Linked DNA regions of Homo sapiens: regions 2, 3, 4, 5 and 6 are each linked to region 1. The links are contacts of gene promoters, found by promoter capture Hi-C in blood cells and fetal thymus (Javierre and others, 2016). All regions are on one chromosome and are shown on one strand. Each heading gives the region's core, a stretch centred on a gene start or on the middle of the fragment in contact. The rest is flanking DNA. Distances are from core to core; before and after follow the strand shown. Region 1 holds the start of SAMD8 (sterile alpha motif domain containing 8). Region 2 overlaps ADK (adenosine kinase). Region 3 overlaps ADK (adenosine kinase). Region 4 overlaps ADK (adenosine kinase). Region 5 overlaps ADK (adenosine kinase). Region 6 overlaps ADK (adenosine kinase).

Region 1 (4,920 bases), core at 1,799-4,298:
CAGGCCTGGAAGTAAAAATCTTGAAAGAATAGCTTGTTAACATGGCATTCTTATAAAACAATAATAATACTATTCATGGAAACATCTGTGATTTAAGTTTCTCAAAAAAAGTGTTCAAATTTCAATTCTTAGAAAAGCCATGAAAATGTCTTAATCAGTAACAGCAAAGTTTTGAAGAAGTATTGAGGATCTAATGATTAACAAAATAAAAAAATGTTTATAAGCAACTGTGCAATGTGAATAAGCTTTTGCAGAAGGGGGGTTATGGTACTGAAATCAAAACTGATTTACCTAAATATGTCTGCATATTCTGCCATCGCAGTCATGATGGCTTCTTCTGCCTTAGAGAAACCGATTTTTTTTTTTTTTTTGAGACATATCACTCTGTTGCCCAGGCTGGAGTGCAGTGGTGTGATCTCAGCTCACAACCTCTGCTTCCCGGGTTCAAGAGATTCTCCTGCCTCAGCCTCCTGAGTAGCTGGGATTACAGGTGTGAGCCACCACACCTGATTAATTCTTTTTATAGTATTAGTAGAGATGGGGTTTTGCCATGTTGGCCAAGCTGGTCTTGAACTCCTGACCTCAAGTGATCTGCCTGCTTCGGCCTCCTAAAGTGGTGGGATTACAGGAGTAAGCCACCACACCTAGCCAAAAACTGATTTTCTTTATTCAATGGGTGTGAGAACTGACAAAGGGAAACAAAAATTAAAAAACTATTAGACATGCTAATATGTTAATTGTACAACTCCATCTAACAGTTTCTCTTTAATTTTGCAATAACATTAAGCTGTAATCTTAATAGAGTTCTTATATTGCAGTTCAGCAAATTTTTACATGCCATGACTTTTATTCACAACTAAGTATGAAGATAAGGTCTCCAGAGGATCTCACTCTAAAGATAAAACCAACAAACAGTAATATTACATAAACTTCAACTGAAGATAATTTGTATTAAGTTAAAGAAAAGGGAATTAATACTTTAACAATCTCAGCATTTTTAGCTAAGAATTCACATATCCTTTGAAGAAACAATTACTATTCCACTGTGCATCTGAGGGTATGTCACATAGCCCATACACATAAACTAATTTAAAAGCTGTTGCAAATCAAATTATCATCTCATGAAGATTAAACAGTAGATATCCATTTAGATTTAATCAAGCATTTAGAAAACGCTTGATGCTAACAAAAATTAGCCAGCCATGGTGGCGCCCACCTGCAGTCCCAGCTACTCCCAGCTACTTGGGAGGCTGAGGTGGGAGGATCACTTAAGCCTGGGCAACACAGCGAATCTCTGTCTCAAAAAAAAAAAAGAAAGGAAAGAAAAGAAAAGAAGGAAGAGAAAAGAAATGGCCAACAACTTTACAAACCTATAATCACATAAAAAGTTGTAAAACATATGAGACATGTGGCTAAAGTCAAAGACTTCATGGAACCATGTTATGACTTAACAATCACAAAAGGAAGTCAATTTATCTCTACTAAAGTGAATATAAATATTGCAATCATTCTTTTTCTGGCATAATTATGTTTTGGAACTATGTCTTCTATAAAAAGCATCTGTATACCCACCTGTCCCAGTTGTGTTGGCTGCCAACTACAAGCATCCTCTGTCCTTATTTTTCCAAATCACTCTACTAAAAATACTATTCACACAATACCTGCAAAATAGTATTTCAATATTGGTTTTGCCAATCAGTCAAAGGTACCTCTCCAATTTTCAAGAGATAAGTCCAATCCTGGGGTTATCAGTGAGAGGAAGATTTGGTATTGCGCCTAGACTGTGGCAAGTTCACTGTGCCCCCTTCACCCAGAAACTTGCATTGACCATACATTTACTATGTGGCAAATACATGTGTCAACTTAAAACTTTGAAAGTGGAACCAGTCCATGTTGAGTATCTGTAAAATCCAAGTGTCCAAATTCTTGTTTCAAGTTTAATTTTTAAAATCTGAGTATCCAAAGTCTTGTTTCAAGTTTTTAAAACTTAAAGGTAATATAGTAAATTTTTAGGATCTTAACATGTCTGGTATTTAAACTTAGCTACGAAAAAATTACAATGAAAAAAAGGACACCATTACTGTCAATAAATCCAAATGATATCTTCATTTTCAGAATCACGTCTTCCACTACCTTCTTCAAACATCACTTCCTCTCCACTACTTCCCCCAGTCCTTTAGGCAAATCAGTGATTCACACCGCCCCTTCCACCCAAGATTCTTAAAATGATCCACTGTGCACGAACGAGAAAGCCCCACGATCCAAGTACATTGCCCTAGTGATCTTTGATGTTTTAAAAGGCACCTGTAAAAATGCCAAAGCCCAAAATTAGATCCCCAAGGGCTCCTTTTCTTTCTTGACCACACTTCTCTTTTTCAGTGCCTCCCTCACCCCTTGAGGCCAGACGATTTCCCATCCAACAGCCCTCCTCCTTCTAGTCAAACCTAAATCCTGCCCTCCATCACCACCAGCCCCACCCGGGGTGGGAGGCGGATAAGAGGGCTCCGTAAGAGGAGAACCCCATGAGAGGGCTCCAGTCCCAGCCCCGATCGCCCTCCCTCGCCCTGGGAAGGGAACACCGGCCCAGGTCTTGCTCCTCTGACTCCTCATCCCCGCTGCCAAACCCAGAGCATCTCTTCTTCCGGGTCCACATTCCCGCAGGACCTTCGATCTTTTTCCCCCACTGCGCAGCTTTCAAAAGCCCCCAAGCTCTGGGCTCTTCAAGCCTCCCCCTCTCGCTCTCTCCCTCTCGTTCCTCGGCCTCCACTTATCCCTCAGCCTTCAGGCCCTCAGTTCGACAACCTCCATTTGCTTCAGATTCCATTCCAGAGCTGACTATCCCGGTTCCCTCAACCGTCTCCCCGGGGCCCCTCCAGGTCGCGGTCCCTCGGCAGCCCCCGGCTCCATCCCAGACTCCCCACTCACCCTTGGCAGCAGGCGCCCCCCAAGCTCCCCTCTCCTCAGCCTCAGCTCCCGCTCACCTCCGCGGTCCGAGTCGGGCTCCCCGGACCCACCTCCGAGTCGGCGTCCGAGCCGCCGTCGGAGTCCGGGGCCCTCCCCGCCTCGCCGGAGTGAAGCGCCTCAAGCGGCGGGGGCGGAGCCCGGGGCGGGGAGCCGGAGTGGAGGCGGGGGCGGTGGCGACTGCGCGCAGGCATCGTCCCGGCCGCCGTCACCGCCGCGCCGGCAGCTGCTCGGAGCCGAACCGGAACTGCTTCGGGAGGCGGGGCCCTACCGGCCGGGGACGGGGTTCTACCGGCAGGGGGCGGGGCCCACACTGGAAAAGACGCGAGGCTCCAGATGGGCCCGAGAGGAGAACCGAGATGCTGCCGCGGAGGAGCCCGAGGGCGCATGCGTCATGCCGGAGGCCAAAGCGACAGGAGGAAGCGGGGCTAGCGGAGCCGGGGCGGGGCCTGTGGGATCAGTAAATGGGGTTAGGGCCTAGAAGGAGGTAATCCGAATTCCTCTGGAGAGAGCCAGCTCTTCTCCAATAGCCAGCCCCCAATGATCATTGTTATAATTTATTGCCCATTTACTCTTTGACAGTGTCTATGCCAAACGCCATATAAACATCTCATTTAATCCTTGTGCTAAGGCCGGGAGCGGAGGCTCACGTCTGTAATCCCAGCACTTTGGGAGGCTGAGGCGGGATCACCTGAGGTCAGGAGTTCGAGACCAGCCTGGCCAGCATGGGGAAACCTCGTCTGTACTAAAAATACAAAAATTAGCCGGGCGTGGTGGTGCATACCTGTAATCCCAGCTACTCGGGAGGCTGAGGCAGGAGAATCGCTTGAACCCGGGAAATGGAGGTTGCAATGAGCCGAGATCACGCCATGGCACTCCAGCCTGGGCGACAAGAGCAAACTCCATCTCAAAAAAAAAATCCTAGTGCTAATTCTGCAAGGGGGATCCTATAGCACAGAAAAGTAAAGAAACATACTGCCTGACATATTGCAAACTGATATTCCAACCCAAATCTCTCTAACATCAGATCCTGTATTTTCCTCACTCCACCATGCTGCACCACCCTGAGGGAAGGTCTCCTCCCAAGCCAGGTCTAGCATTGGCATAAACCAAGTCCAAACCCAGCTGTAACCTGGACACGAGCCCCTCCTTGGTCTTGCCTCCCCACACAGTGCCGGGCCGACTTCAATGGTTCTGAATGGGATAGACATGAGTGTAGACTGCTTCCATGGGATGCCCTGGTGTGGCCTTTCCCTTCAAACTGGTCTTAAGGCCAAGGGCAGCTGGGAACCTCCCCACTGCAGCTCATACCCTTCCCAGCTCCATTAGGGCCACTGAGAAGTCACATGAGAGAGGGTGAGACATCTCATCTCTCTTGCTGATAACCAGCTCTGGCAGAAGGACAGGTTGACCTTTCTCAGTTTCTATTTTGGGACCCAAAGCCCTTATAGGCAGAGGAATCTCCCTCCCACTGTTTCTGATGACAGTTAGCCCCTTTGGCTCTCAAAGTCTAGGGCAACACTCACCTCCCGTCTCCCCATTTGACATACAAGGCCCTCTTCAGCCTTCTCTTCTGAGAAGTTAGCCATCTTCACTACAGGACCATTGTTCAAACCTTGCCCCATTGGCCCGGCACGGCGGCTCACACCTGTAATCCCAGTACTTTGGGAGGCCGAGGCAGGCTGATCACTTGAGGTAGGAGTTCAAGACCAGTCAGACCAACATGGCAAAACCCCATCTCTACTAAAAACACAAAAATTAGTGTGGCATGGTGGCACATGCCTGTAATCCTAGCTACTCAGGAAGCTAAAGCAGGAGAATCACTTGAACCTGGGAGGTGGTAGTGGCAGTGAGCCAAGATGATGCCACTGCACTCCAGCCTGGGTGACAGAGTGAGACCCTGTCTAAACAAAACAAAACAAAAAAAAACACCTTCCCCCTCCCCCCATGAATCTTGTG
Region 2 (4,920 bases), core at 1,368-3,867, 840 kb after region 1:
ACAAAAAAAATTGCATAGAACTTTACGTAAGGTTTAGGACAACATGAAGCCGATACGCCTGCCTGTTGCAAGCTGGATTCTCTGAAAATGGACACTGAAGTAGTTTTGGGTATATGATGTTTATTAGCAGTCAATCCCTGTGAAAGAAATTCGGGGAGAGGCCGGGCGCAGTGGCTCACGCCTGTAATCCCAGCACTTTGGGAGGCCGAGGCGGGTGGATCACCTGAGGTCAGGAGTTCGAGACCAGCCTGGCCAACATGGTGAAACCTCATCTCTACTAAAAATACAAAAATTAGCCAGGGGTGGTAGCACCCACCTGTAATCCCAGCTACTCAGGGGACCAAGGCAGGAGAATTGCTTGAACTTGGGAGGCAGAGGTTGCAGTGAGCCAAGATCATGCCATCACACTCCAGCCTGGGGAACAAGAGCAAGACTTCATCTCAAAGAAAAAAAAAAAGAAGAAGAAGAGATTTGGGGAAGAAAGCCGAATTGGGCAGAGGGAAAAATCAAATTGCAATTCAGGCCCAACAAAGCCTCAAGCAACCTGGCAGATCTCTGGTGGTATATCACCTGTCAGAGTTGTCTCAGGCCTGAACAAAATGGCTGGGCCTTTAAACATGTCTTGCTTGATTGCAGGATAAGTGCTGCCCTGGAAAGGATGTGACCTTAAGCAAGGAGGCTCTCCGCAACTGAGGTAGAGCCTGAAGGAGCTGACAGCTTAAGGCAATTTTTTTTTTTTTTCTGGCTGTCCTCTGTAGGCCAGACAGCTGAAGGTTTTCTGATGACTGACCTCCCCACAACTGGGCCACAATTCTTCCTTGAAGGAGGATCAGGGCTGCACATCTCCATATCCACCACACTCAAACTTCACAACTCCTGTTTCAACCATTTTTAAATCCTCTCATCTCTTATTATTCACCCTTTCTCTTCTTTTCTACTTCTTCTAATTACACCAGTGTGCTTAAGGCAAAAGCCCAAGCATCTGCAGCAGAGAGGATCTGCAGTATAAGGACCTTGTGAGAGGTATACTATAGACCATGGGCTGACTGAAGTTGAACAGGGGTAGAAGGAGCCCCCACTCAGAGCAACAGGAAGCCCTACAGACTGAACTTTCTTTGTAAATTGCTGGCCAAAGCTATAAATCAGATAAGTTCATGTGAACAACTGAGAAATTAACAGCAAATTTCTGTAAACAGACTTGCCACCAAACCAGTTAAACACATATGTCTTATAATTTATCCATCACAATAAGGAGCAATACAATATCACTATTTGGAGGTTATAAAATTAAGCATTTATAATACTATCCTTTAATTTATAATCAGAGGTAGAAAATGAAGCATATTGGCTGTGGTGGCTCATGCCTGTAATCCCAGAACTTTGGGAGGCTGAGGCAGGAGGATTGCTTGCATCCAGGAGTTTGAGACCAGCCTGGGCAACATAGTGAGACCCCATCTCTACAAAAAGTCAAAAGTTAACCCGGCATGGTAGTGCGCGCCTGTAGTCCCAAACACTCAGGAAGCTGAGGTGGGAGGACTGCCTGAGCCCAGGAGGTTGACATGCAGGGAGCCATGATTATGCCACTGCACTCAGCCTAGATGACAGAGTGAGACCCTGTCTCAAAAAAAAAAAGAGAGCAAGAACATATCTGTAATGTTTTCATCACACAGTATTTAAATAAATTAAATCTACATTTTCAAAGAAATAGATGAGAATAAACAGAAATGAGGAGTAAAAAAATTTCTCACATCCCTTACAAGGAAAATTAATTTTATATATAACATTAAGTAATGCAAAATATATTAGCAACACTTCCCTTTTATGCAAATAACTACACATATTTTGACTCAGTCACATTAAAGACAGTAAACAAATCATCTACACATCATAACATAAGTATATTCAGAATAATTAAGGTTTCCCTACATGTTAAATCCCTGCAATTAATTTACTATCAATGGGGTTTGCAGTACAGTTGGTTTCTACTCAGAAAAAAACTAAGTATTTATTTGCTTGACATATCAATGGAAAGTTCAAGCTAATATGAAAATATGAAGCAGCTTTGTCATATCAAATAATTACATTTTTGTAAGTACTATTAAAGAAAAAAGATATACTTAAAAACTGCCTTAAAATATACCTGAATATATACTATGCAGCCATAAAAAATGATGAGTTCATGTCCTTTATAGGGACATGGATGAAATTGGAAATCATCATTCTCAGTAAACTATCACAAGGACAAAAAACCAAACACCGCATGTTCTCACTCATAGATGGGAATTGAACAATGAGAACACATGGACACAGGAAGGGGAACATCACACTCTGGGGACTGTTGTGGGGTGGGGGGAGGGGGGAGGGATAGTCATTAGGAGATATACTAATGCTAAATGATGAGTTAATGGGTGCAGCACACCAGCATGGCACATGTATACATGTGTAACTAACCCGCACATTGTGCACATGTACCCTAAAACTTAAAGTATAATAATAATAAGAAAAAACAACAACAACAACAAAAATATATATATACCTGAATATAAATGTAAAGTAGACATACTTTTAATCCCTAAGCATAAAAATGTAAATAAGTTAAATGCTTAATCAACAAGGTTAGAGCAAAAATTCCAACATTAGAACTGACAATTATTGCCAAATATTAATCAAGGTCTGTCCTATCTCCAAGTTTCAGCTGAATAACTGTCAATTTGGGGGTATCAAAAACCCCCACAACTTGATACTAAGGTGAATATATGTTATACTAAGAAAAATTCTCAATACAGAAGCCTCTGTTTATAAGTAGGTTAAGTTTTATTTGTTCTTTAATCTAAAGTGACCATCCCTATATATATTCCTGCCAAATAGAAGACTACATTACCGCTATATGCATTCTATTAAGACATTTTTCTCCAAAATATTCCAGTTTTGTCTACACTAAAAATTGGTTGTGAGAAATAATTCCTCTCTTCTTAATGATCTATGTACAAATGCCGTAAAAAACTTTTTAGCAGCTATGGAATCCAAATTGCTGCCTTGCCACTTACTTGGACATTATCTGGATTTAAAGGGCCTTAAGCCTACAGAACTATCTGGCTATGAAAAGTCTGATCAGCAGGACCTATAATGTTTTAGCCTTTAAATTCTCAAACTCTTAGTCTTTTAATAAAAGATCAATAGACATCTAATATTGATGCCCAGACTCTACTGTAAATTCAAAAGCATTTCTACCAATGTCTCCTACTGTACTTACGTTCAATTGCTAAGGCCAGCAGTTCTCAAAGCATAGTCTAAGGACTACAAGGGTCCCACAAAATCTTTTCAGGGAACCAACAAGGTTAAAACTATTTGCTTTGCTGGGTGCAGTGGCTCACACCTGTAATCCTAGCTCTTTGGGAGGCCGAGGTGGAACAATGGCTTGAGACCAGGAGTTCTGGATCAGTTCAATATATTACAACAGATGGCAGGCAGAAGCAGATGAAAATCCAGCTGTCTTCTACTAAGTCAGACATTAAAGAGATTTGCAAAAAGCAATACCATTCTTTTAACTATTTTTTTCTGGTTTAGAAAATATCATTATTTTCCAGAAAAATGTGTTTATGCTAGCAAATACTGGGTTTATTACAGTTATCTTTAAATGTATTGAATATTTTCAACCGTTTCCATTTTAATTTCTAATATTGTAATTATCAATAGATATAACCCACTAAGCAATAGCACTTTGGGGCATAGGCACATTACTTTTCACATGTTTAATCACTTGCTTTATTCTTCAAAATAACTCCTATTGTTGAACAAACCAATTCTTCACCATTTAGTTTATTTAAAACTTTCTCTGCTTTTAATTACCATCGGACTAATATCTCTCCCTATTAACATGTCACATTCTTATCACTTTTATTTATTTATTTATTTTTTTGAAATGAAGTCTGGCTGTGTTGCCCAGGCTGGAGTGGAGTGGCATGACCTTGGCTCACTGCAATTTCCACCTCCTGGGTTCAAGCGATTCTCCTGCCTCAGCCTCCCGAGTAGCTGGGACTACTGGCACGTGCCACCACGCCCAGCTAATTTTTTGTATTTTTAGTAGACACAGGGTTTCCCCATGTTGGCCAGGCTGGTCTTGAACTCCTGAGCTCAAGTGATCCACCTGCCTTAGCCTCCCAAAGTGCTGGGATTACAAAAGATATACTTGAACTCCTGAGCTCAAGTGATCTGCCTGCCTTGGCCTCCCAAAGTGCTGGGATTACAGTGAGCCACCATACCTGGCACATTCTTATCACTTTTACACCTATATAACACAATATTCTTAAAAATAAATAGCAACTAAAGCACAAATACAACAAACATAGTACAGAATAATAAACACAATAACCAACCATAAAATGACCAGCCAGGTCAGTATACACTATTTTTGGTCTCATGTGGTTTGTGTCTATAAAATATGGTGAAAATTAGTAAAAATAAGTTCTTTATATGTTACACTGATACTTCTCAAATCTGAATAAAAGACACCAGTATAAAGCTGCTTGTAGCTAACCAGAGTTAAATATGCCATAAGTCAAATAATGATGTATCACTATATTATAAGGAAATGATTAGTTCTATTCCATCACTATCAAGAGTTTCATATGTATTGTTAGTTATTGGAAATGTAGGTTACTAAATCTCTAGTGTTCAAACAGTTTAAAAACAATTAAGGAGGCTCTTTTCTTGAGACTACACACGCATTAACCCAAATAGATTATAAGAGTGTTATAGTTGGTGGGGAAAAAAATTATGATAAATACAAGCAATATTTTCTAATAAAGATGAATGTTAATAGAAAAATTAATGTTACATTTAAATATAATTTGAATATTGTGTACAACAATGAAGCACTTTAATTAAAAAACAAGTTTAAGCCATACTTAATCATTCATC
Region 3 (4,920 bases), core at 1,864-4,363, 820 kb after region 1:
GCCAGTATAATTTCCTTAAGGATTAGATGTGGGATATAAGAGAAAGAGGAAAAACAAGAATGAGTCTCAGGTTTTTATCCTGAATAACGAGAAGGATAAAACTGCCATCAAGTGAAATAGAGAGGGCTGCAGGTGGAACAGGTTTTAGAGGAAAGATTAGGAGTTCAGTGTTGGGACACATTAGGATATCAAAAATACAAGCAGATTCATTAAATAGATGCTGAAAGAACAAGTCCCCTAACTTCTCAAACATGATTAACTCTCCAATCCTCCAATATTGCTATGACTAAGGACACAGAGTGCTATACTACAGGGCACACTCTACTTCACTGCAAAGAAATGATTCCTTGACATACAAAAAGGATAGAGATTTGACAAAAGGTGTCATCTTCCCATCACAGAAACAGGCCTATACACCGACTACCACATGCAGGGAAAAACAAAATGGGCTCTTCTAACACAGAACCAAAAGACCTAAATTCCCCTCCAGTATATTCCATATGATCTTTGTAATGCAAAAAAATGAGTAAAGGACTGGTATTCTTGGTATAGTAGACAATACTGAGCTCCCAAAAGTTTCACAACAGAGGTAAGTAGGTAGGTAGGCAGGTAGGTAAGTAGAGAGGGAGAGAGATGTTAAATAAATACATTTGAGAAAAAGAAAAAAACAATCCCACGGGCTCATGATTCTAGTGATGCAGTCATTCTGTGTCCCAGGGAGACCTGACAAATTTACCTCAAAAATGACATCTTGGATTTAAAATCTGAACTCTAGGACTTTAAAATTTCCTGTTTTACAATATGATACACTTTTTTCTTTGTTCCATGCTACCTCCTTTCATTCCTGCAAGAAAAGTCACGAAGAACAAAATACTGTACAGATGAGAAAACTGAAGCGTGAAATCATTATGATACACATAATACAAAGGTAGCCAAAATTAGAATCAATATCACATCCTTTGCCAACTGTCTACCCCTCATAGAATATCTAGTATGGTAAAGCTATCATACTAAAGTAGATATAAAACAAGATTATAAAAAGTTACCACATGTAATATAAAAATATTTGAAAAAAAATCAATACTTCAATAATCACAATATTCTCCCCAGTTACTGACAATTATCATTAAGATTTGACCACTGCTGTACATCCTGCATATAAAATAATTTCATATGGTTTATGCTTGCTTTCCACTTACCTATAACTCATAACAATCTATATAATGTTTTGGTAGAAAATGCTTTCTTTTTGTTATATGTGACATTAGGGTTTTGTTGTTATTGTTGTTGTTGTTGTTGTTGTTTTTGAGACGGAGTCTCACTCTGTCACCCAGGCTGGAGTGCAATGGTGCGGTCTCAGCTCACTGCAAGCTCCACCTCCTGGGTTCACGCCATTCTCCTGCCTCAGCCTCCCGAGTAGCTGGGACTACAGGTGCCTGCCACCACACCCGGCTAATTTTTTGTATTTTTTATTAGAGACAGGGTTTCACCGTGTTAGCCAGGATGGTCTTGATTTCCTGACCTCGTGATCCGCCCACCTCAGCCTCCCAAAGTGCTGGATTACAGGCGTGAGCCACCGCACCCAGCCTCTTTTGTTTATTTTTATGAGCTAAAGATAATAATGAGCCAAAAACTCCTATATTCTTTAGTACGTATTTTACATATGGGCAATAAAATATATTACAAAACATTTTCCATTTTAAATTATTTGGCAAAAAATCTCCCATAGCACTTATTATTATTATTTGCTACAGACTCTTCCTAAAAGCAAGAAGCAGCCCATTTTCTCCAGATGACTCATAAACTAAAGGCACAGTAGAATGAAGTGCTCCAACTTAAAATACCAATGGCTAAATATAACCTCTTCCACAAGATTAGAAAATTCAGTGTCTCTCTTTATTCTATAAGAGCCATCTTAAAGGGTCACCTTTAAAAAACATAATTAGCAAGCATGGGGAAGGGACAGGAAAAATTAAATTTAAACATTTAAAAAGTAACACAATTAGTTCCTAGGGTGATAAGCAAGAAGAAAAACCTAAAACAACATAAACTTTTTTTCTTTAAGCACTCAGCAAAAAAGGAGAAAACTTCACAAAAAATTAGGGTTTTTTTTTTCTCATTCTTTAGGTAAAACACTTGTCTCTTTCATAAAAGCATTTAACATCTTACTAGATGAATACTGGTCACAAATAACAAAAGTTATCAATGGTTTGTAGAGTAATTGGAAGACTTCTTCAGTCATTAAACAAATGAGAATCCAGTTCCAGTTGTTTCATTTGAGATTACCCTTTAGAGAAAGACTAGGGAAATACTTAGTAAATATTTTTAAAATATCACGGATACTTATTTTGCATACAAAATTAAAATATAAAAACATCTGAAATTACTAATCAGAAGTACTGATAGTTTTTCCAAATGAGCAATAAGAAAAACTAACCCAAGATAATTATAAACACAGTAAGTCAGAGTGAAAAACAGGAAGAGTATAAAGAAGCAGGCTGACAAAGTGAAGCTAACTCTCAGAGACAAAGAACGAACCGAAGGAAAAAAACTGACAGCTTTTGAGACCTTAGATTTAGCCATTCCTAAGGCCCAATTGAACCCCTATGTGAGTGTGTGTGAGTGTGTGTGTGTGTGTGTGTGTGCGCGTGAGTAGTTTAGTGACTTGAGTCCCTAAATTCCTTTTTTTAACCTAGCATAGCACTAGTTTGGTTTCCCATCACTTGTAACAAAGAATCCTAATTTACTATAAAAATATTATCTTGAGAAAGAGTAAACTAATTGTGTATATGGCTAAGAAAAGGTATGGATTTTCAGGTGTACTACAATATACATTCCATCCTCCCTCCTTTTTCTACAAAGGAGAATTTTCTTTCCTTTTTTTTTTTTTGGCCCACTAAAAAAGAAAAACTCATCAAAATTGGATTTACTATAGTAGTCAACGTCAGAGCCAACTCTTCAGAAAAGCACACGATTAAGAAAGTAAACTGAGAGAAATTTTCTTAAAGTAGTCAGCTTTTTCAAAAACATAGTGCCACTTTTAAGAGAAAAATTAGTTGGAAGGGAATACAAAATGATAAGAGGAGTATTATATTCATGGTGAAATTACTGATCATCTCTATATTTTTCATTTTGGTTTTATGTAATTTCCAATTTTTCAACAAAAACATAACACTCCAAATCAGAAAGAAACATGCTACTTTTTAAATAAGGGTACATTTTTTTTAAGTGTTTTAGCTTTCTTCATGGTCCCAGGCTATCTTTGCTTAAGCCAAATATTCACATAGTTTTGAGAGGTGAAATGTTTATTTAGCCCAATTCAGCAGAGTACCTACTGCGTTTAAAGCAGAGTACCATATCAAAAATGTAGTTCCTTCAGCCAGGTACGGTGGCTCATGCCTGTAATCCCAGCACTTTCAGAGGCGGGCTGATCACTTGAGCCCAGGAGTTCAAGACCAGCCTGGGCAACAAAGTGAGACCTTGTCTCTACAAAAAACAATATTAAAATAAACAAATAAATAAATTGTAGTTCCTAGAAGAAGCTATAGACAGACTTCAGTGAATTTATTTGTTGATATAGTTTTTAAAAATTTCTTTCTGGTGGGATGTTTGAATTGCAATAAAGTTTAACCAGGCATTATGCTTCATTATGGCCCAATTCAACAATATTGAGAATAAACTCTGAAGTGTGTGAGCTGCTTCATTCTGTTATTTTTATTTCCTATCTACTGACAATTTTCAAAGTAGCCACTCATTCTCCAAATCAGCTGCAATACAGTTTTATAAAATATTACTTACTTTTCATATACTCTCCAAAAATAATTTCGGCAAAATACCTTCCATGAATATTAAGAAAGCAAAGTGAAATAATGAACTTACCCATTTTAGATCCTATTTTCTACTGTAATAAACAGTTATCAAAGTTCCATTCCAGAGGTACATAAAGAGATACCTCTAATATAGCTCAACTTCACTGAAATATTTTAAAAGTTTATAAATTTTGGCCAGAAAAACGTAATAAGACTTTTTACTCTGTAATGAAGTTTTAAAAGTTTATGTTCACTTTTCTTTTTGAGATGGAGTCTCGCTCTTGTCACCCAGGCTGGAGTGCAGTGGTGTGATCTCGGCTCACTACAATCTCCACCTCCCGGGTTCAAGCTATTCTCCTGCCTCAGCCTCCAGAGTAGCTGGGATTATAGGTGCCCGCCACCACGCCTGGCTAATTTTTGTATTTTTGGTAGAGATGGGGTTTCGCTATGTTGGCCAGGCTGGTCTCGAACTCCTGATCTCAGCTGATCCGCCTGCCTCAGCCTCCCGAAGTGCTGGGATTACAGGCATGAGCCACTGCGCTCAGCCTATGTTCACTTTTCTTTAACATCAACACAGATTTACATGATCTCTACTAAAAGTATCATTTAAGATTCCAATAGGCAACTACCTTGTCTCATCTTCATACATTTTCTGAGTCATGATTCACTGTACTTCAAGTTGATGTAACAATTTGAATATTGAATTTTATATGTTCCCTCCCCAAATAATGTAAGCCAAACCTTCCGCATTAATTTTATTGCCCGTTATTTACAAATATGCTTTACACTCATGTCTCCTAATTCTTAAAAAAAGAGCCATACTGTCTTTGCCCAGGGTTTCTGTATATAAAGACACATAACATGGCATTTGAAAGGTTCTAAGTAAAAAAGTACTTAAAAATTTTTTTTTCTCTTTTTTTTTTTTTTTTTTTGAGACAGGGTCTCAGTACATCGCCCCAGGCAGGAGTGTAGTGGCACCATTATGGCTCACTGCAGCCTCAACCTCCCGGGCTCAAGTGATCCTCCCACTATAGCTTCCTGAGTAGCTGGGATTACAAGCATGTACCACCATGCCCAGCTAATTTTTTGTAGAGATGGAGTTTCATCATGT
Region 4 (4,920 bases), core at 1,195-3,694, 800 kb after region 1:
AATCACTTGAGGCCAAAAGTTCAAGACCAATCTGAGCAACACACAGAGACCCTGTCTCTACAACAAATAAATTAGCCAGGTATGGTAGGGTGTGCCTGTAGTCCTAGGAGATGGAGGTGGAGATGGAGGAAGGAGGACCCTGTGAGCGCAGCAGTTCAAGGCTGGAGTGAGCTATGATCACACCACTACATTCCAGTCTAGGCAACAGAGCAAGAGATTCTGTCTCAAAAAAATTAATAAATAATGAACAAATAAAATTATTTGAGTATTTTTTTGGTATGTGTTTTTTCTAGCCCACTTGTGGCCTCTTCAAAAACAGAAACAGGCCAGGCACGGTGGCTCATGCCTGTAATCCCAGCACTTTGGGAAGCCGAGGCGGGTGGATCACAAGGTCAAGAGATCAAGACCATCCTGGCCAACATGGTGAAACCCCATCTCTACTAAAAATACAAAAATTAGCTGGGCTTTGTGGCATACACCTATAGTCCCAGCTACTTGGGAGGCTGAGGCAAAAGAATCACTTGAACCCGGGAGGCAGAGGTTGCAGTGAGCAGAGATCGCGCCACTGCACTCCAGCCTGGCAACAGAGTGAGACTCCGTCTTGAAACAAACAAACAAACAAAAAAACCAGAAACAGCATAAAAATATTTGTTTTACTATAATCTTCTTTTTCCATTCTCATTCTCAATGTACTGCCAAATCAGAGATGGGCATTCCTTTGGTCCCATATTTTGTTAATATTGTACTGCAGGGCATCTATGTCCAGCAACAATAATAGCCATCTTTTAGGCACATATCCAAGGAAGTCATTTTCTTCCATTTCTTTTTTTTTTTTTTTTTCCTAGAGACAGGGTCTCACTATGTTGTCCAGGCTGGTCTCAAACTACTGGACTCAAGCGATTCTCCTAACTTAGCCTCTCAAAATGCTGGGATTACAGGCATGAGTCACAATGCCAACGTTTTTCCATTTCTTTCAAGTCAAAACTCACATTAAGTGCTTCTACAAATTTTTTAAAAACTGACAAAGTAACCAAAAGTGTTCATTAAGAAAGCATCAATTATCAAACTTAAGCAAGTTATACCCCTTTTTAGCAGTGTTATATACATGCTGTGCAGGATATTGAGCAGATAAGAACTTTTCACTTTCATTAGGAAGAAGTTCAGACCAAATGAAATTTACCAAAATTTACATTTGTGCTGTGTATCAAATAAATCTAGAATTGTGTTTGGACAAGATATCAACCATACTTGTTTTTGTTGCCTATGGTTTCATTAAAATCTTCAAAAACATGATTTGACATATCAAAATACCTAAGAGCTTTGGGGACATTTTCTTGTTGACATAATTTGCCATATCACTTGATACATGAAAGTATGATTACTAGTAAGATCTGACAGAATAAGTTACCCAAAGCTTCAAATTCCTTTTATTACCTTGCTAAAGACAGGAACAAATAAACCACTACTAGAATACGTTGTTAGAATGAATGTGAAATATTGTAAAAAAAAAAGTGCAAAAGAATAAAAGTAGGCAATGACTGTTTTATTATGAGACTAATATCAGGGAGAAAGCTGAGGGAGAACTTAATTATATAATTAATAAACTTTTAGAAGGCAGAAACTGATGAAGATCCCCAAGAAAGGAGACAATTTATTAGTGAACAGCTAATAGCCTCCCGGTATTAGTTCATTTTCACACTACTGTAAAGAACTGCCTGAGACTGGGTAATTTATAAAGAAAAAAGTTTTAGTTGACTCACAGTTCAGCATGTCTGGAAAGGCCTCTGAAAACTTATAATCATGGCAGAAGGCAAAGGAGAAGAAAGGCATCTTCTTTACAAGGCAGCAAGAATGGGAAATGCCGAGCAAAGGGGTAAGAGCCCCTTATAAAGCCATCAGATCTTGTGAGAACTCACTCACTATCAGGAGAATAGCATGAAGGAAACTGCACCCATGACTCAATTACCTCCACCTGGTCTCTTCCTTGGCATGTGGGGATTATACAGATTACAATTCAAGATTAGATTTGGGTGGGGACACAAAGCCTAACCATATCACCCCCAGTTCTAGCAGGAGAAAAGACTGAAAACTGCAAAATGCAAAACGTGCCTTGATAAATTAAGGCTTAAGTAAATCATCCTTTTTTTCTCTCTTTTTTTTTTTTGAGATGGAGTCTCACTCTGTTGCCCAGGCTGGAGTGCAGTGGCATGATCTCAGCTCACTGCAACCTATACCGCCCAGGTTCAACCGATTCTCTGGCCTCAGCCTCCCAAGTAGCTGGGATTAGAGACATATGCCACCACACCTGGCTAATTTTTGTATTTTTTTAGGAGAGACGGGGTTTCACCATGTTGGCCAGGCTGATCTGGATCTCCTGACCTCAAGTGATCCGTCCACCTCGGCTTCCCAAAGTGCTGGGATTACAGGCGTGAGCCACCGTGCCTGGCCGTAAATCATCCTTTTTCTATTACTCTGGAAGTTCATAAAGTGACCACCAGGATGTTTTACCAAAAACAATACAAATCAATTGACCAATACAAAGACTCAGGCCACTTCATATTAATGACCGCCTTAAAGATTCATTTTTACAAAATATTTGAAAACTATGATTAAATCTGAGCTTGGAAGTATGTGGAATAATCATACTATATGTCTCAATCAACTAAGAGTTACTTGAAAAGAAATCATTCTGGATTTTATTTGTCAATTTTCCACTTCCCCAGTTCTTGAAGTTAATCAGAATTCAAGGGGAAAGCATTAATCAATAAAAAAGAAAAAGAAATCTAGTGTAGGCAGAACTGACACATGATTGCAATGAGCAGAATTTTGAGTTAACTTCAAACTGCAGAGGTAAGAACCAGAGGTATGTAAAACTTGTTCATATCTTTCAAAGCTGGAAGATTAAACAGATCACTAACTCTCTCAATCAAGATTAGGTTAAGCTGGTAACTCAAAGAGTATATGCCTAATGGGTTTATTCAATTACTCATTGGAAGATATGGGAATAGAGACAGATATATAGATTTATAAAAGATATACACCGGTATAGATATATAGATGCATATACATATCTACCAACATATATGTCTATACATAGATATTTAGGTATGAATATATGAATGTACATTTATGTATATAGATATCTATATATAATACAGAGCAATTTCTACTATCTTGTGGCAGAAACGTCCTTCGTAAGGGGGACATGCAGGAAATGAAGAAGCCATAAAGTTTAATTACGTTAAAAACTTTGAAAGTTACATTAAGAACTAAGGCACAGTAAAAGACACTGTAAGAGTTAATGTACACATAACAAAAAATAAATACTTTCAACTTATAAAATAAAAAGGAATACTATCTATAAAATATGAAGTTTCTACAAATCTGTAACATGAAAAATTATAAAATGATAGTGAAAGGAAACAATTTAAGAAGAAACACAAATGAACAATAAACATTAAAAGTTCAAGCTTACCAATAACCAAAGAAATACCAATTAAAATAACTTTTGATTAGATGTGCAATGACTACTAAAATCCCAATTCAAATGAACAAAACTATTCTACAGCAACACAATATAAAAGGAAACAATTATGCAAAATAGACATGGGTCTAGAATCATTTTGAATCCTTTTAACTTTTAAAATAATTAACCAACCTGAGCCACTTTAATTGAATTCTGGGTAGAGCCACCAGCATGATATTCGACTTTGAATTTTTTCACAAGTTCATCAAACCTATAAGGAAATCACAGTAGAAAAAAGTAAGTTACCTTCTGTGAGTTGCAACAAAGTAAACTTTTCTGAGCAGAAGAGTATTAAAACACAAATAGTAAAATGTTTTTATTGTTTAAGTATGTTGAATAAATGAATTGAAATATCTTATAACAAAAATACTAAATTTCCACATTTAAGAAATGTTTTCCATAAGTGTACAACTATAAGAATTTAAGAATTTAAAACAGACTGTCCATAATTGGCCATTAAACTAAACAGAAAGTAAAAGTAATAATTAATAGATTGCCAAATGGAGGTCACGTGGCAAACTGGTTAAGTCAAAATCAGAATCCCAGTCTCAGAATCACTTGTTACTACAAACATACAGAAATCAGCATGTATTTCTCCTCATTCCAGACAACTAACAGAGTTTTCTATAGAAACTAAACAAAATTTCACTTAATGTTACCCTTGGAATCAGTTCAAGAAGTATGAAAATTATAAGACCTTACACTTCAAAAGAGATGAAGTATATGTTCATTTCCTCTTCCACATCTTACTAAACGTCAAAAAATATGTTTTATGTATAAAAATAAACAAAAGTATAACAGTACTGCCTGTAAAGCAAGGAAAGAAAGATGCCACAAACAGACCTATCTAATTATATGAAAAGATGCAGCTAGAGAATGACACAGTTTCTGTACACTAACAATTATTGAAAAATTTTTGAAAAATCAATAGTTGGATGGATTACCTGAGCAATCAAAATATGCATGGGTAAAAACTAAGATAAAAATAGAAAAGTTGAAATTTTTAAAAAGACCAAAAAAGTAGATAGAAAATATAAGAAATTAAAAATATGAAATAAAAATTAAAAGGTGTAGAGAATTTATTAGGTGGTCTGAGATCTGTTTAACAGGAAATACAGAAAGGGAAAATAGAGATTATGAAGAGTAAGAGAGAAATGTTGGAAAAAAAAAAGGTGAAACATAAATATGGTCAGATTTTTCCAAACATCAAGCAGTTTTACAAGGGATTAGGGACTAGGACCCCATACTTGGACACATCTTGTTTAATCTCTCATATTAAGATAAAACCTTTAAAGCATATAATGTGAAAAATAATAATTACCTTAAAAGGAATAAAAATCAGACTAATACTTAACTTCTCAAAGAATACCGGATGCTAAAAATATAATGGAGTA
Region 5 (4,920 bases), core at 1,539-4,038, 730 kb after region 1:
TCTGAAATAATGCCATATGCTTTAATTCAATTCATAATAGAATGATGAAGAATGACACCTAGGTACTAAAAGAGTTGCAAGATAAGCCAAAGATATGAAATTTTATACAGAAAACTCAATGAGGCATCTCAGAAAAACTGTAAAGCACAACTAAAAGAAATTAAATGTCAAAACTGAGAAACAGCAACAAGCAGACTGCAAAGGATGATGAGGAAATCAAAACTGAAATAGATTGATAAGGAAAATAGCATATATCACATAACTTATAGGATAGATTCTCAGATGATTACAATACCACCAAGTGAGACAGGGCAAAACACAAGATTTTCATAAATATTAAGAATCTATTCTAACTGAATAACTAGTATGTTATGCTTCTTTCCTTAAAAAACTGCTCCATTGCCCCTGCCAGCAAGCATCCTATTAATAAAAATCAATTTCTAATAATCCTGTTCTTTCCCTGAAATAGTTCTATTGTTATTTTTGTTAGTAAATATCTGTTAACATTCTCAGAACAGATTCGGGGAATATTAGGCCTAGTAGAAAAAATAAACTTTAGACTCAGATATATAAGTTCATCCAGCCATGTGATGGTAAACAAGCTACTATTTCAGAGACTATGTTTCTTGTGGAATTATTGTGATGATTGAATAGGATAATGTAAGCAAAGTGTTCAAGGCAGTGCCTATTACAGAGTACAGCTGACGATGACAACAGTGCCCTGAGACTGTGATAAAATGCAGAATTTTTAGTGTATATTCATTCAATTCATTCCACCAATATTTGTTGATCACCTATTATTTGTTGGACATTATTGTAATTAATAATGGATAAAGAAGTCTTCTCTATCTCTTTTGTAGGCTTCTTTCCTTCTCCCCATTCCTTAGCATTTCTCAGGCCTGGATTCCCAGGTTACCTACAATTCTTACCGTATATACTTTCTCTGGATATGATCTAATCTACTCTCATGGTTTCAATTATCATCTATATGCTGAGACCCCCTCATTTTTAGCTTATACTTGTTTTCAAATGACTGCTCTGAATATCCAAATACCTACTCAACCCTATTTTGCCTATTAAATTGACACACTTTTACTCCTGCCTCTATTAACACCACTTTAGTACAGGCCACCATCTACTCTCAATTAGACTACTATAAAAGTCTCTTTTAAAAAAATTTATTGAGATATATTCATATAACCATACAATTTGCCACTTTAAAATATACAATTCAGTTGTTTCCTGTTTATTCACATAGCTGTGCAACCATCACATTTTCATTATCTCAAAAAGAAACCTCTACCCATTGGATGTCATTTCCCATTCTCTCTGTCACTCCATCCTCCCAACCATGCAACCATTTGCAAAAGCTTCTTAGATCATCTCCCTGCCTTTAGTTCTGTTTTTCTCCAATCCACTGCATTTTGAGTGCTCTTCCTAAAATGTCCTTCAATCGTTACCCAAGTATCTTAAGCAAGTTCAACATAAACAACTTTATGATTGAACCATTAACTTCCTCTCCAAGTTAATCCTAAGCATTAACACTCTTGAATGCAATGTTCCAGTACACTGAATACTTCATTCTGTTTCTGTTTGTTCTTTCTAGCTTCCTACTTAGGTTTCAGGTTTCACTTACTGAGACAATGTTGTCCTAAATTCTGTTCTATATACCCATTGTTATTTATTTTTTATTTTTTTGAGACGGAGTCTTGCTCTGTCACCCAGGCTGGAGAGCAGTGGTGCGATCTTGACTCACCGCAAACCTCTGCCTTCCAGGTTCGAGCAATTCTCCTACCCCAGCCTCCTGAGTAGCTGGGATTACAGGTGCACGCCACCATGCCCAGCTAATATTTGCATTTTTAATAGAGGTGGGGTTCCACCATGTTGGCCAGGCTGGTCTTGAACTCCTGACCTCAAGTGATCCATCCACCTCGGCCTCCCAAAGTGCTGGGATTACAGGTGTGAGCAACCGTGCCCAGCCTATATGCCTGCATTTTATGTTGCCGCAACAAACTGTATCATTCCTATCATAGAATTAATTCCACTTAATTGTAATTTGCTGTTCAAGACTGTTTTCTTGGCTTTTTTAAAAGAGTTGTAGGGTGTGTTTCCAAATCTAGAAGAGTGCCTGCTACATTCTATGCAATTAAATAATTGTCAAATAAGTGAACAGGAAAGCCAGGATTGTATCTTCTTAAAACTTACAATTTAAGGGTACATAAAGCTTACATACAAGATATGTTACTATTTATTTTAAGAGATGATATATATATAATAGGAGTTGTTGCAGAACATGCAAGTAGCACCTTAGTCTTTGCAGAGTGGCCAAAGAAGATTTCCTAAGATAAATATGAGAAACTGTGTCCAAGCTGACACTTAACTATGATGGAGATCAGGACACACTACCCCCAAAATATGGCACTTGACATACTGAAAATTTTAAGCTGAAGGAATTTGAGAACAGCAGGTGCAGGAAGGACTTTCTGATTTCCTCTGAAGCAAATCATAAGACCATCCATGTGAGAGGATGTTTACTATATGCAGAAAAAAAGAACATCCTTATCTCAGAAGATGTAAGGACATGAGATGAATCTAAACAAACAGGTCTTGCTAAGGTCCCCTCAGTTTACTACTCTTAGTTCATACCCCTTTTTGTCCTATTGCCTTTCCCTTCCACTCTTCATAAAACCTAATGTAAAAACACCAGGTTTAATTGTTTCTTCAAGTCTTCATTTCCCTCTATGTTACATAAAACTTAGAATATAAATTAGTGTACTTAACTTTTGTTAATCTGTCTTTTGTTACAAGAATCTTACAGCAGAGAACTTAGAAGGAAAATATTTTTCCTCCCTCACAACTACAAATAGGAATTAGGGGATATATGAGGCTTACGTGGGATAGCTAATTTTCAGAAGAAGATGAATGGCAGAGAGGCCGAGAAAGAGAGAGAGAGAGAGAGACAGAGACAGAGACAGAGACAGACAGACTGACTACTGGAATCAGAAAACTAAAAGTTCAGTATTCCAAAAAGTCTTAGAATCAAAATGCTTATAATCTCTTACTCAAATCTGTATTCTAAAGATATAGTATTTCCTAAAGTACAGAATAAAAGTATGCTGCATATACTCTATCTAGAGGTATCATTAACAATATAACCAGTAATACAGGTTAAAGGTTCAGCATAGAATCTGGCATAAGGTTGGCAGAAAGTAAATTTTAATTATTATTATTATTATTACTGTTGTAATTATTGTAGCAGTATCACTAATACTATTGTTATTGTTACTTCTAAGTCAAATTGTTATATATCTAGAATACTAAGAAGGAGTATGAATCTTATTTTCTAAGCTTTGTTAGTCTGCTTGAAGTCCAGGGGCCCCTATCATTGCAGGGTATGTGTGAGAGGAGGGGGGGAAAATCCAATAAACATCCTGAAATTGTAAGGAAACTTTGCTGTGTTTTTCAAGAGAGGATTCACAGATTTCATTAGGTGACTAACACGGTCTAGGCCACCTACACCAAGGGGAAGTGAGGGAAGAGTGTAGGCAGAACCCAGATATAGCCAGTGAGGAAGCCTTTTTCTTTTCAAGAAAAAGAGCAAAAAGGTTACAGAACTGAGTCAAATTCATCAAATTAAACAAGAAACTCATTTAATCCAAAGCTATTTACCAAAATTTTAAAATACTGTATCTTATAATTTTAAAAAAATTGTGTTACTGAAACTTTCACTCAATTTCTTAAGATTAACAAAAATGGATTACAAAATAGCATGGATTTATCTCCAAAGGTCTCCAAAACTAGGGATAAAAAAATAACACAGCACCTGGTATGGTGTTACAATAGGTGTCAAGTTTTAATTCAATGTGACTTTCATCAGAACAAAAGAATAGGCTGTATATAAAATAAGAAAGAAAAACCACCAAGGAAGTTTATTGTGGTAAATTAAAACCAGGACAAAACGGTGAGAAAGGGCCAGGTGCGGTGGCTCACACCTGCAATCCCAGCATTTTGGGAGGCTGAGGCCGGCAGATGGCTTGAGCTCAGAAGTTCGAGACCAGCCTAGGCAATGTGGTAAAACCCCATCTCTAGAAAAAATACAAAAATTAGCCAGGCATGGTGGTGTGCACCTGTAGTTCTAGCTACTCAGGAGGCTGAGGTGAGAGGATCGCCTGAGCCTGGGAGGTAGAGGCTGCAGTGAGCCAAGATTACATCACTTGCACTCCAGCCTGAGTGACAGAGTGAGACCATGTCTCGAGAAAAGAAAAAGGAAGGTGAGGAAAGGAAGAAACCTTTAGAGAAACACCACAGTGATCTTTAGACATAAGAATGTCACTCAAATGCATCTGCCCAGAAATTCTACAAAATCCACAGAGAAGCATGCCAACTAATAACCAAAGAATAAGAAAAGAATTGAGAAAATCCTTCTCCTTTACTTTTTCTAGTATACACTTTATAAAAAGCAAAATCCCTCAAGGCAGTAAACATCTGCCCAACAACACTTAACAGCAGCAACATCAAAAACGTAAGGCAAAGGTCAAGTCAAAGTTTATTGACAATGATGAACTATGACAGCCTCTATTAAATTACCCCTTCCTTCAAGGTGTATGTGATCAAAGCAGCAAAGATATTTTCACTCAGTCACATAACAAGCCATTTGCTGAGATTGAAACATCTGGTCAATATCTCCTAACACTGCAATTTCATGCACAGTTAGCATTAGGGCACATTTCTTCTACTCTTCTTACAGGGTCCATAAGGGTGGCACATATGGCTGATCATTTCATTCAAAAAGGATTCAATTCAAGGCATTACACACAATCGTCTGTGCTTTATGGTGTTTTAAGTCTACCTGCCACAGTTTTCCATCATCATTGCTGACTGCTGTTCTCTTCCACTATAAAAGCCTGCAAATATGACAAA
Region 6 (4,920 bases), core at 1,575-4,074, 700 kb after region 1:
AACTTGCCTTCCTGCTAAGTACCAGAAAGGAAAAACGTTGTCCTCTCATTTTTTCATACCAATTTACCAAATTTTTTTTTAAGCTTCACGTACCATGTCATCCACCTAAATCAGAAAAAAACTGGTATTTCAAAAAACTGACCCTCATGACCCTCAAACACGGTAGCATTACATATATGTGTGTGTGTGTGTGTGTGTGTGTGTGTGTGTATATATGTATGTGTGTGTATATATAAATGTATGTATATATATATTTATATATATGAGCAAAAGCTTAAAAGACTCTTTATAACACTTGCAATAGAGAAATAGGTAAGAGCAAGAGATCAAAGCAGACTTATTATGTCTTCCATTACATGCCAACAATAAAGACATAAATACATTATTTGTGTAATCAGGAACAATTGCATCATTTGTAGTCATAATAACTAGATACCACTGAAACTATTATGAGAGATGTGGATATAAGATTAAATCCAGGGGGTATGGAGCATTACTACTGATGGGTATAACATTTCCTTCTGTGGTGATGTGAATGTTCTAACATTAGATTACAGTGATGGTAGCAGAACTCTGTAAATACACTAACAGCCACTGAATGATATTTTTTAAGTGGGTGAACTCAATGGTTCATAAATACCTCAATAAAAGCTGATAAGAAAGATTAAATTCAACTTTATCTGAAAAGATAGCAACAACAGAACATGTGGGGTAAATCATATTAAACTATAAAGATTCTATAATATCTTCAGTAAATATATTGGAAGACAGATACCATTCTGTAGACACTTGATTGTTTATGTCCAGTTTACATACAATTTCAAAGATATGACAACTAGCACTTAAAAATGTACACTGCCATCTGAATGTTTATAAGTTTTTCCTCTCTTAAACATGTTTATTAAAGAGATTTAGTAAACATTTCATTTTCTCAAGCAACTGCTGATTGGTCTAAAATACATAAAGTAAACAGAAGTGAAAATATTTCAGTAGATGATTTGTTAATTCATTTGGGGCTCTGCATAAGTGCCTACTGTCTTAACAACTAAATGCTATACATATGCTTATTTTCTTACCATTCTGAGGCAATTAGCACATAGTGTGGTTTCCAATCTCACATAAAATTCCCAGACTTTGTTACAGTGCCACAAGTCCACAACACAAAATCTTCCAATCTTTATCTTTAGGGCTCCTAAGCTCCCATAACCAATACTATCCCAATTCTTCTTAGTAAAAAGGTTAGTCCGTGTAATGAAAAATAACATTACTTAATATTCCCAAAGATTTCTTCTCTGTCTTGGTAGAGAGTTTTACTTTTGGTAGCTGCCAAAAATAAGAGTTAAGAAAAATTACAGGAATAAAAGAGTACATTCTCCAATTTGGAGAAAGTCTTTCTGTATAAAAATCACAGTGTTACTCAAAAAAAACTGGTATTAGAATTTTATTTATTGAAGAAAACAAATTCTAGAGAAATTAAAAATAAACACAAATAGGATCTCTGTAATCACACTTTTCTTTCTTTTCTTTTTTTTTGAGATGGAGTCTCACTCTGTCACCTAGGCAGGAGTGCAACCTCTGCCTCCCAGGTTCAAGCCATTCTCCTGCCTCAGCTTCTCAAGTGCTGGGATTACAGGCATGCGCCACCACGCCCGGCTAATTTTTGTATTTTTAGTAGAGAGGGGGTTTCACCATGTTGGCCAGGCTGGTCTCCAACTCCTGACCTCAAGTGATCTGCCCACCTCGGCCTCCCAAAATGCTGGGATTACAGGCGTGAGCCACCACGTCCAGCCTATAATCACACTCTTGTTTGAAAATTTATCCAGCAAAAATCAAAGATTCTCCCTACTAAGGTGGAAGTAACAACAGTAAATAATTTGTGTAACTCACTGAACATCAATAACATATGGAAAATGAAAAACATTAGAAACTGAACTCTAACACTAATGGTAAGAAATAGCATAATTAAGTCTGTTTTGGTATAAGCATACCTTATTTTATTGCACTTCACAGATACCTTTTTATTATTTTTTTTTACAAATCGAAGGTTTATGGCAAGCCTGCCTTGAGTATGGTGTCATTATTTTCCAACAGAATGTGCTCGCTTGGATCTCTGTCATATTTTGGTAATTCTTTCAATATTTCAAACTTTTATATCTTTTATAGTGATCACTGATCTATGATATTATTATTGTAATTGTTTTGGGATGCCACAAACCACACCCATAGAAGATGGTGAACTTAACTGATAAATGCTGTGTTTTCACTGCTCTACCAGCTGGCCATTACCCCATCTCTCTACCTCTCCTAAGGCCTCCCTATTTCTTGAGACACAACAATAGTGACATTAGGCCAATTAATAATCCTACAGTGGTCTCTAAGTGTTCAAGTGAAAGGAGGAGTTGCATGTCTCTCACTTTAAGTCAAAAGCTAGAAATGATTGAGTTTAGTGAGGAAGGCATATCGAAAGGTGAGACAGGCTGAAAGTTTGACCTCTCACAACAAACAGGCAAGTTCTCAATGCAAAGAAAAAGTTCTTGAAGAAAATTAAAAGTGCTACTCCAGTGAACGCATGAATAAGAGAGTGAAATAAGCTTATTGCTGACATGGAGAAAGTTTTACTGGTCTGTATAGAACATCAAACCAGCATAGCATTCTCTTAGGTCAAAGCTTAATCCCGAGCACAACCTTAACTCTTTTCAATTCTGTTAAAGCTGAGAGGTGAGGATGCTGTGCAAGAAAAGTCTGAAGCTAAGAGAGGCTAATTTGTGAGGTTGAAAGAAAGAAGCAATCTCCATATCATAAAAGTGCAAGGTAAAATAGCAGGTGCTGAAGAGTTACCCAGATCTTGCCAACATCATTGATGAAGGTGGCTGCACTGAACAACAGGTTTTCAACATAGACAAAAGAGTCTTCTACTGGCAGAAGATGCTATTGAAGACTTTTACAGCTAAAAAGAAGTAAATGCTTGGCTTCGAAGCTTCAAAGGATAGGACGACTCTTTTTTTTTTAGGGGCTAATGCAGCTGGTGACTTTCAGTTGAAGTCAATGCTCATTTACCATTCTAAAAATCCTAGAGCCCTTAAGAGTTATGTTAAATCTGCTCTGCCTGTGTTCTATAAATGAAATAACAAAGCCTGGATGAACACATACCTGTTTGAGTATGGTATGCTGAATTTTTTTTTTTTTGGGGACAGTTTCACTCTTGTCACCCAGGCTGGAGTGCAATGGCGCAATCTTGGCTCACCGCAACCTCCGCCTCCAGGGTTCAAGCAATTCTCCTGCTTCAGCCTCCTGAGTAGCTGGGATTACAGGTGTGCACCACCATGCCCAGCTCATTTTTGTATTATTAGTAGAGATGTGGTTTCACCATGTCGACCAGGCTGGTCTCGAATTCCTGACCTCAGGTGATCCTCCCGCCTTGGCCTCCTAAAGTGCTGGGATTACAGGCATAAGCCACTGTGCCCAGCTGGTATACTGAATATTTTAAGCCCACTGTTGAGATCTACTGCTCAGAAAAAAAGATTCCCTTTAAAATATTACTGCTCATTAACAATGCATCTGGTAACCCAAGGGCTCTGATGGAGACGTATAAGAAGATGAATGTTGTTTTCACGGCTGCTAAAACAACATTCATTCTGCAGCCCATGGATCAATGAGTAATTTTGACTTTCAAATCTTATTTAAGTAATATATTTCATAAGGCTATAGCTGCCATAGTGACTCATCTGATGGGTTTGGGCAGAGTAAATTGAAAACCTCCTGAAAATAATTCATCATTCCAGTTGTCATTAAGAACATTCATGGGCTGGGCATGGTGGCTCACACCTGCAATCCCAGCGCTTTGGGAGGCCGCAGTGGGAGGATCACTTAAGCCCAGCAGTTCGAGACCAGCCTGGCCAATATGGTGAGACCTCGTCTCTACAAAAATAAAATAAATGATGAGGTGGGAGGATTGCTTGAGCTTGCCTGGGAGATTGAGACTGCAATGTGCAGTGATTGTTACTGCACTTCCCTGCCTGAGTGACAGGAGTAAAACCCTGTTTAAAAAAAAAAGAACATTCACGATTCATGTGAGGTGGTCAAAATATTAACATTAATAGGAGTTTGGAATAAGTGGATTCCAACCCTCATGGATGACTTTGAGGGCTTCAAGACTTCAGTGGAAGAAGTCAATGCACATGTGATGGAAATAGCAAGAGAACTAGTATTAGAAGTGAAGCCTGAAGATAGGACTGAATTGCTGCAATCACATGATAAAACTTGAATGGATGAGAAATTGCTTCTTATAGATGAACACAGAGAGTGGTTTCTTGACATGGAATCTACTCCTGGTGAACACGCTATGAATGCTGTTGAAATGACAACGAAAAATTCAGAATACTGCATAAACATAACTGTTAAAGCAACAACAGAGTTAGAGAGGGCTGACTCCAATTTCAAAGAAGTTCTACTGTAGGTAAATGCTATCAAACAACATTGTATGCTACAGAGAAATCTTTTATGAAAGAAGAGTCAATTGATGTGGCAAACTTCATTGCTGTCTTATTTTAAGAAATCGTCACAGCTACCCCAACCTTCAGAAGCCACCACTCTGAGCAGTCAGCAGCCATCAACACTGGTGCAAGACCCTCCAACAGCAAAAAGATTATTACTCGCTAAAGGCTCAGATGATCACTAGCATTTTTTAGCAACAAAGTATTTTTAATTAAAGTATGTTTATTTTTAAAGATGTAATGCTACCACACACTTGAGAGTACCATATAGTGTAAACATAACTTTTATATGAATTCAGAAACCAAAATATTCATGTGACTTGCTTTATTGTGATATTTGCTTTATTGTTAAGCAAAGATGTCTTTGCTTAACTCAAATGTTAACACAGTTTGGGCTTTACTTGAAGTGACTCTCAAATAAAATTAT

The links. The method cuts DNA at HindIII sites, captures the fragments that hold promoters and counts their contacts. A CHiCAGO score of 5 or more calls a contact.
Region 2: a fragment that was not itself captured here is called in contact with the fragment with the promoter of SAMD8 in region 1 in 15 of 17 cell types (naive CD8 T cells, monocytes, total CD4 T cells and 12 more); the score reaches 17.9 in naive CD8 T cells.
Region 3: a fragment that was not itself captured here is called in contact with the fragment with the promoter of SAMD8 in region 1 in 6 of 17 cell types (naive CD8 T cells, neutrophils, fetal thymus and 3 more); the score reaches 7.0 in naive CD8 T cells.
Region 4: a contact is called between a fragment that was not itself captured here and the fragment with the promoter of SAMD8 in region 1, in 2 of 17 cell types (naive CD8 T cells and total CD4 T cells). The highest score is 8.2, in naive CD8 T cells.
Region 5: a contact is called between a fragment that was not itself captured here and the fragment with the promoter of SAMD8 in region 1, in 1 of 17 cell types (M0 macrophages). The highest score is 5.1, in M0 macrophages.
Region 6: a fragment that was not itself captured here is called in contact with the fragment with the promoter of SAMD8 in region 1 in 1 of 17 cell types (total CD4 T cells); the score reaches 6.9 in total CD4 T cells.

What each region holds. Positions count from the first base shown.
Region 1 is chr10:75,109,784-75,114,703 of GRCh38, reverse strand. It overlaps SAMD8 (sterile alpha motif domain containing 8), which reads right to left and starts at 3,048. Exons shown (of 6, transcript NM_001174156.2): 1 at 2,982-3,048. RefSeq lists enhancers at 2,340-3,288, 3,289-4,238 and a silencer at 2,962-3,301. The HindIII fragment of the contact is 16,308 bases long and covers 248-4,920 here.
Region 2 is chr10:74,268,997-74,273,916 of GRCh38, reverse strand. The region is part of intron 3 of ADK (adenosine kinase); the gene reads right to left. Among named protein-coding and RNA genes, the nearest start is that of ADK, 120 kb to the right of the region's middle. The HindIII fragment of the contact is 7,286 bases long and covers 1-4,920 here.
Region 3 is chr10:74,287,804-74,292,723 of GRCh38, reverse strand. The region is part of intron 3 of ADK (adenosine kinase); the gene reads right to left. Among named protein-coding and RNA genes, the nearest start is that of ADK, 140 kb to the right of the region's middle. The HindIII fragment of the contact is 8,920 bases long and covers 1-4,920 here.
Region 4 is chr10:74,313,484-74,318,403 of GRCh38, reverse strand. It overlaps ADK (adenosine kinase), which reads right to left. Exons shown (of 11, transcript NM_006721.4): 4 at 3,659-3,737. Among named protein-coding and RNA genes, the nearest start is that of ADK, 160 kb to the right of the region's middle. The HindIII fragment of the contact is 2,056 bases long and covers 1,417-3,472 here.
Region 5 is chr10:74,381,449-74,386,368 of GRCh38, reverse strand. All of the region lies in intron 4 of ADK (adenosine kinase), which reads right to left. Among named protein-coding and RNA genes, the nearest start is that of ADK-AS1, 150 kb to the left of the region's middle. RefSeq lists an enhancer at 1,681-1,760. The HindIII fragment of the contact is 1,124 bases long and covers 2,227-3,350 here.
Region 6 is chr10:74,411,324-74,416,243 of GRCh38, reverse strand. All of the region lies in intron 6 of ADK (adenosine kinase), which reads right to left. Among named protein-coding and RNA genes, the nearest start is that of ADK-AS1, 120 kb to the left of the region's middle. The HindIII fragment of the contact is 310 bases long and covers 2,670-2,979 here.